Linked DNA regions of Homo sapiens: region 1 is linked to region 2. The links are contacts of gene promoters, found by promoter capture Hi-C in human tissues and cell types (Jung and others, 2019). All regions are on one chromosome and are shown on one strand. The core of a region is centred on a gene start or on the middle of the fragment in contact, and the rest is flanking DNA. Distances in the headings are between cores, read along the strand shown. Region 1 has its middle 38 kb from the start of NOG. Region 2 holds the start of NOG (noggin).

Region 1 (2,700 bases), core at 160-2,659, 38 kb before region 2:
AGGAAGATTACATTACATGAACATTTAACAAATATGAACTCAAAAATATATGACGGCAACATAGAGAGGAAAAGAAATCATTTAAGTAGGCTGGGCACAGTGGCATGTGCCGGTAATCCCAGTTACTCAAGAGGCTGAGGCAGGAGGATTGCTTGAGCCCAGGGGTTTTAGACGAGATTGGGCAACATAGTGAGACCCAGGCTTAAAGTTTTGAAAATAGTAATAATAAAAATAAATAAAAGGGACAAAGAGAAATCATTTAAGTAGTGTGTGTGTCATTCTGAAATACTTCCACCCAATAAGCCTAAGTCCAAGGCAAGCTTGATGTGGGGGACAAAGAATCTCTTGATCTCTCAAACTGGCCTCAGTTCCCAACTGCCTCTCATAGAATAAGTATCTCTTCCTGCTGCGTGTGAGGCTAGTGTTTAAAGATACATGACCTATAACATAATCCCTACATGCAAGCCAAGCAGAAAATCAATATGTTCCAACGCTCGAGGAGACACAGGATAAAGTGACCTTCTGAAAAATGCTGTGCTGGTCCCCAGTGTGGCATAACCTAAGGAACTCCACTGTGTTTACAGAGAGGCTTATCACAGCACTGCTATCAAAACCGAGTGAAAATTTGGGAACCCTCTAAGTGTCCATCAGTAGTTCAGTAGGGTTTATTGATGTGCAATACTTCCATTTAATGGAATATTATGCAGCCATTAAAAATGATAGTGTAGTTCTGTATTTGTTAGAATGTAAAGATTAACACAGCATGTCATCAAGTAATAAAAAGATTATGTAAATGGACACACAGTACGATCCCATTTTTATTAAATTATAGCCATATATCTCTATGTATGAATAATCTATGTAAATATATCCTTAGAAAAATGCCTAGGTGAAGCTCAGCAAAATCTTAGTAGTAGAAATCTCTGGGTAATCGTATTTTGAGTGATTTGAGGGTTTTTTTCTGATTTAAAAAAAATCAATAAACTTTAAAAATAAACAATAAAGCTACCTTTAAAACTCATTCTATGGTTAGTTCCACTCTCATATAAGCAAATGGTTCCCAACCTTCTCCCCCACTGACCCTTGGTTATTGCTGCCTGGGGTTTGGCCATTCAATCATTTCAGAACTCACCAGAGAGGATACAAAAACTATGATACACATTTGCCAAATTTGATTCTATAGCTGTATGTTCCTTTGTCTTTTCTCTCTTTTGTCTTCACCAAATTAGTCTGTTGGATATTTTTCACTTCAAGAGGGACCAAATCTGTTGTAACTTACTTAGTGCAACTCAGGATAGCACCATATCTGCTCCTCTCTAGCACTCCCACATTATTCTCAGAAATAATAACCCATCAGAAGGTGCTTGGAGTGGTGAGCTACTGGTGAACATCCAGCTACATCTGCACCTCCATCTCCAGGAGACTTTGTCCCTTAGGGCTCAGCTTAGGTGCTGCCTCCTTCTGGAAGTCTCTGATCTCCCTTCACTGCTGAGTTAGCTGCCTTTTCCCATGTTCCCCGGGTGCCAATGTTCCTTCCTAGCATTGTAGTCTAATCCTAGTACTGTATCATATCACCGTGTGTTATTGTTGCCTGTTTATTTGTTTGTTCTTCCAATTGGACTGTGAAATCCTTGAGGGCAAGAGATTTCACCTTCTTCATTTTAATATCCCCAGCCCTGGCACAAGCTTAGCACACAGTGGGCATTTAATGTATGTATGTATGCTGAACAAATTAATGAGAAGGAATAGAGGTGGGACCACAGACCATTATCATGCATGGGTTTCATAAAATGACTGTTCATAATTTCTTTCCCAGTTTCTGTCTTCTCCCCCTCAGAAACACAGTTTTGATTTGCCTGAGGATGGGCCACAAGCCATGACCCTTATTTGAGATAGAACTCTCAGACTAATTTAGGATTAAAGAAGAAGGATGAGGAGACTATATTGGTCCGTCAAAGCGGGAAATCACGGATGAACCTGGCTCCAGGCATGCCTAGGTCCAGGAATTCAAGCACAATCCTCAAGACCCTCTCTCACCTTTTTCCCCGTTGCTTGGTACTGATGCTTTTTCCGCATATTGCCTTATTCTCTCCTATTCTGCAAATAGGTCATCACCAAATTGTAAAAAAGATGGCCACCTGCCATCCCCAATTCATATCCTCCTAGCTCTCTGTCATAAAAGGCACCACTTTCTCCTTCAAATCCAAAGTCCCTAAGAAAAAGAGGAAAAAAGGCTTGGTGTGGTAGCTCACGGCTGTAATCATAGCATTTTGGGAGACCAAGGTGGGAAGATTACTTGAGGCCAGGAGTTCAAGACCAGCCTGGGCAACATAGCAAGATCCTCTCTCTACAAAAAATTTAAAAATTAGCCAGGTGTGGTGGCATACCTGTAGTCTCAGCTACTCAGGAGGCTAAGGTAGGAGCACGGCTTGAGCCCAAGAGTTTGAGGCTGCAGTGAGCTATCATTGTACCACTACACTCCAGACTGGACGACAGAGAGACTATCTCAAAAAAAGAAAAAAAGTTCCAGGGAAAGATTCTGATGGGTCTGACTGCAGTTAAATGTCCATTCCTGACAGTGAAATGCAGTCCTGTGATTGGCAGGTCATGACCATGTCCCACCCTTACACTCAGGAGCATGAGAAACTGATTGGCTGTACCACCGAGTCCCATGATTGGGAAGTGGGAACAATGTCTTAA
Region 2 (2,700 bases), core at 70-2,569:
TGAGACCAGAGACCGATTTACCTGAGGCAGAAGGTGCTGCACGCATTCTTGTGAAATTTGAGGGGACCGAGAAGGAATCTCAGGAAGTTTGTTTACACTGGGGGCCTGGAGACCTTCGGGAAAATAGCCAGAACCAAAACGGACCAGTCAGCAGACGCAGACACACACAAAGTGACAGGGACACAGAAGCAGAAGCTGAACTGGGCAGAGCGGGCAGCGGCCGACCCACCTCGCACGGCCGCCCCCGCCAGCGCCAGGTGCAGGGCTCATAGCGGGCCAGCAGAGGGCGCGCCGCCCCCAGGGAGCCGAGCGGCGGCCGCGCGGAGCCGGGCGGGCTAGGGGAGCCGCAGGCGAGCCAGTCGCGCCCCTGAGGCTAGGCCACTCAGGGTGCAGGACCCGGCCAAGGAGGAGGAGGATGGTGAGGAGCGGAACCCCCTCGTGGGCCCGAGGGGCAGACAGACAGGAGTGCTTCCTAAGAATTACATCACGCTGCGCAACGCTGCGGCTCTCGGACTCCCTGGTGCAAAGGGGGGTGGGGTAGGGGCTGTGTGTGTGTGTGTGTGTGTGTGTGTATATATGTGTGTTGGGGGGAGGGGACTTAGAGCAAGAGCCCGGGAGAGAAGAAGACGCGCTCGGGGAAAACGCTCCATGCACATGGAGAAATTTCTTGCTCCGAACTGCATGCACCGAGAAACGAGCCCCCAGCACTTCCCCGCTGCTCCCCTCCCAGTGCAAAGCACCCAGCTAGTGAGAAACCCTCCAGCCCCACCTCAAGCACCGCCCCCCCTCCCCAAACACCGGCTCTGCACCCTCCAGCCCGGCTCCAGCGCCGCCGCGAGCTTTCCCCAGGACTGGCCCTGGCGGGGCGCCTAGAGCCCCAGTTGCATTGCTCCAGGAGAAAGGAGGGGGGCGGTGCATTTTGCAGGAGGAGGAGAAGGGGGGTGGGTGGTGGGGGAGAGAGAAAATTGCGCGGAGACCTGCCAAGCGCCACCGCCGCCGCCACCGCCGCTGCCGCCGCCGCCGCCGCCGCCTGTGAGCTCCGGCGGGCAGCCGGACTGTCGGCTTCCCGGGGCATCTGGGTCCGGCGGGGCACAGCCCTGGGCGCTGCCGAAGCCGCCGCCGCCGCCTCCGCGGCGAGTACAGGCGGCTTCCCCCGGAGCCTGTGCAGCTCCAGCTCCTCGGGGGTGGAGAAGTGGGGGGTGGGGTTGTTGTTTGGGGGGAAGAAGGGGGAGGGGGCAACGCCGAGAGAGTCAGTGGTTTCCATGGTGATGGAGCTGAAAGTGCAGGAAATTTAAAGGCTTGGACCCTGCGAGACAGACAAACCGGTGCCAACGTGCGCGGACGCCGCCGCCGCCGCCGCCGCTGGAGTCCGCCGGGCAGAGCCGGCCGCGGAGCCCGGAGCAGGCGGAGGGAAGTGCCCCTAGAACCAGCTCAGCCAGCGGCGCTTGCACAGAGCGGCCGGACGAAGAGCAGCGAGAGGAGGAGGGGAGAGCGGCTCGTCCACGCGCCCTGCGCCGCCGCCGGCCCGGGAAGGCAGCGAGGAGCCGGCGCCTCCCGCGCCCCGCGGTCGCCCTGGAGTAATTTCGGATGCCCAGCCGCGGCCGCCTTCCCCAGTAGACCCGGGAGAGGAGTTGCGGCCAACTTGTGTGCCTTTCTTCCGCCCCGGTGGGAGCCGGCGCTGCGCGAAGGGCTCTCCCGGCGGCTCATGCTGCCGGCCCTGCGCCTGCCCAGCCTCGGGTGAGCCGCCTCCGGAGAGACGGGGGAGCGCGGCGGCGCCGCGGGCTCGGCGTGCTCTCCTCCGGGGACGCGGGACGAAGCAGCAGCCCCGGGCGCGCGCCAGAGGCATGGAGCGCTGCCCCAGCCTAGGGGTCACCCTCTACGCCCTGGTGGTGGTCCTGGGGCTGCGGGCGACACCGGCCGGCGGCCAGCACTATCTCCACATCCGCCCGGCACCCAGCGACAACCTGCCCCTGGTGGACCTCATCGAACACCCAGACCCTATCTTTGACCCCAAGGAAAAGGATCTGAACGAGACGCTGCTGCGCTCGCTGCTCGGGGGCCACTACGACCCAGGCTTCATGGCCACCTCGCCCCCCGAGGACCGGCCCGGCGGGGGCGGGGGTGCAGCTGGGGGCGCGGAGGACCTGGCGGAGCTGGACCAGCTGCTGCGGCAGCGGCCGTCGGGGGCCATGCCGAGCGAGATCAAAGGGCTAGAGTTCTCCGAGGGCTTGGCCCAGGGCAAGAAGCAGCGCCTAAGCAAGAAGCTGCGGAGGAAGTTACAGATGTGGCTGTGGTCGCAGACATTCTGCCCCGTGCTGTACGCGTGGAACGACCTGGGCAGCCGCTTTTGGCCGCGCTACGTGAAGGTGGGCAGCTGCTTCAGTAAGCGCTCGTGCTCCGTGCCCGAGGGCATGGTGTGCAAGCCGTCCAAGTCCGTGCACCTCACGGTGCTGCGGTGGCGCTGTCAGCGGCGCGGGGGCCAGCGCTGCGGCTGGATTCCCATCCAGTACCCCATCATTTCCGAGTGCAAGTGCTCGTGCTAGAACTCGGGGGCCCCCTGCCCGCACCCGGACACTTGATCGATCCCCACCGACGCCCCCTGCACCGCCTCCAACCAGTTCCACCACCCTCTAGCGAGGGTTTTCAATGAACTTTTTTTTTTTTTTTTTTTTTTTTTTCTGGGCTACAGAGACCTAGCTT

The links. Contacts are between HindIII fragments. The study calls those that stand out against the background at their distance.
Region 1: a contact is called between a fragment that was not itself captured here and the fragment with the promoter of NOG in region 2, in 1 of the 25 tissues and cell types used here (lymphoblastoid cells).

Annotation. Positions count from the first base shown.
Region 1 is chr17:56,554,761-56,557,460 of GRCh38, forward strand. No RefSeq gene overlaps it. Among named protein-coding and RNA genes, the nearest start is that of NOG, 38 kb to the right of the region's middle. The HindIII fragment of the contact is 5,061 bases long and covers 1-2,700 here.
Region 2 is chr17:56,592,380-56,595,079 of GRCh38, forward strand. It overlaps NOG (noggin), which reads left to right and starts at 1,320. Exons shown (of 1, transcript NM_005450.6): 1 at 1,320-2,700. The coding sequence starts at 1,845. The coding sequence ends at 2,543. RefSeq lists a silencer at 173-382. The HindIII fragment of the contact is 21,510 bases long and covers 1-2,700 here.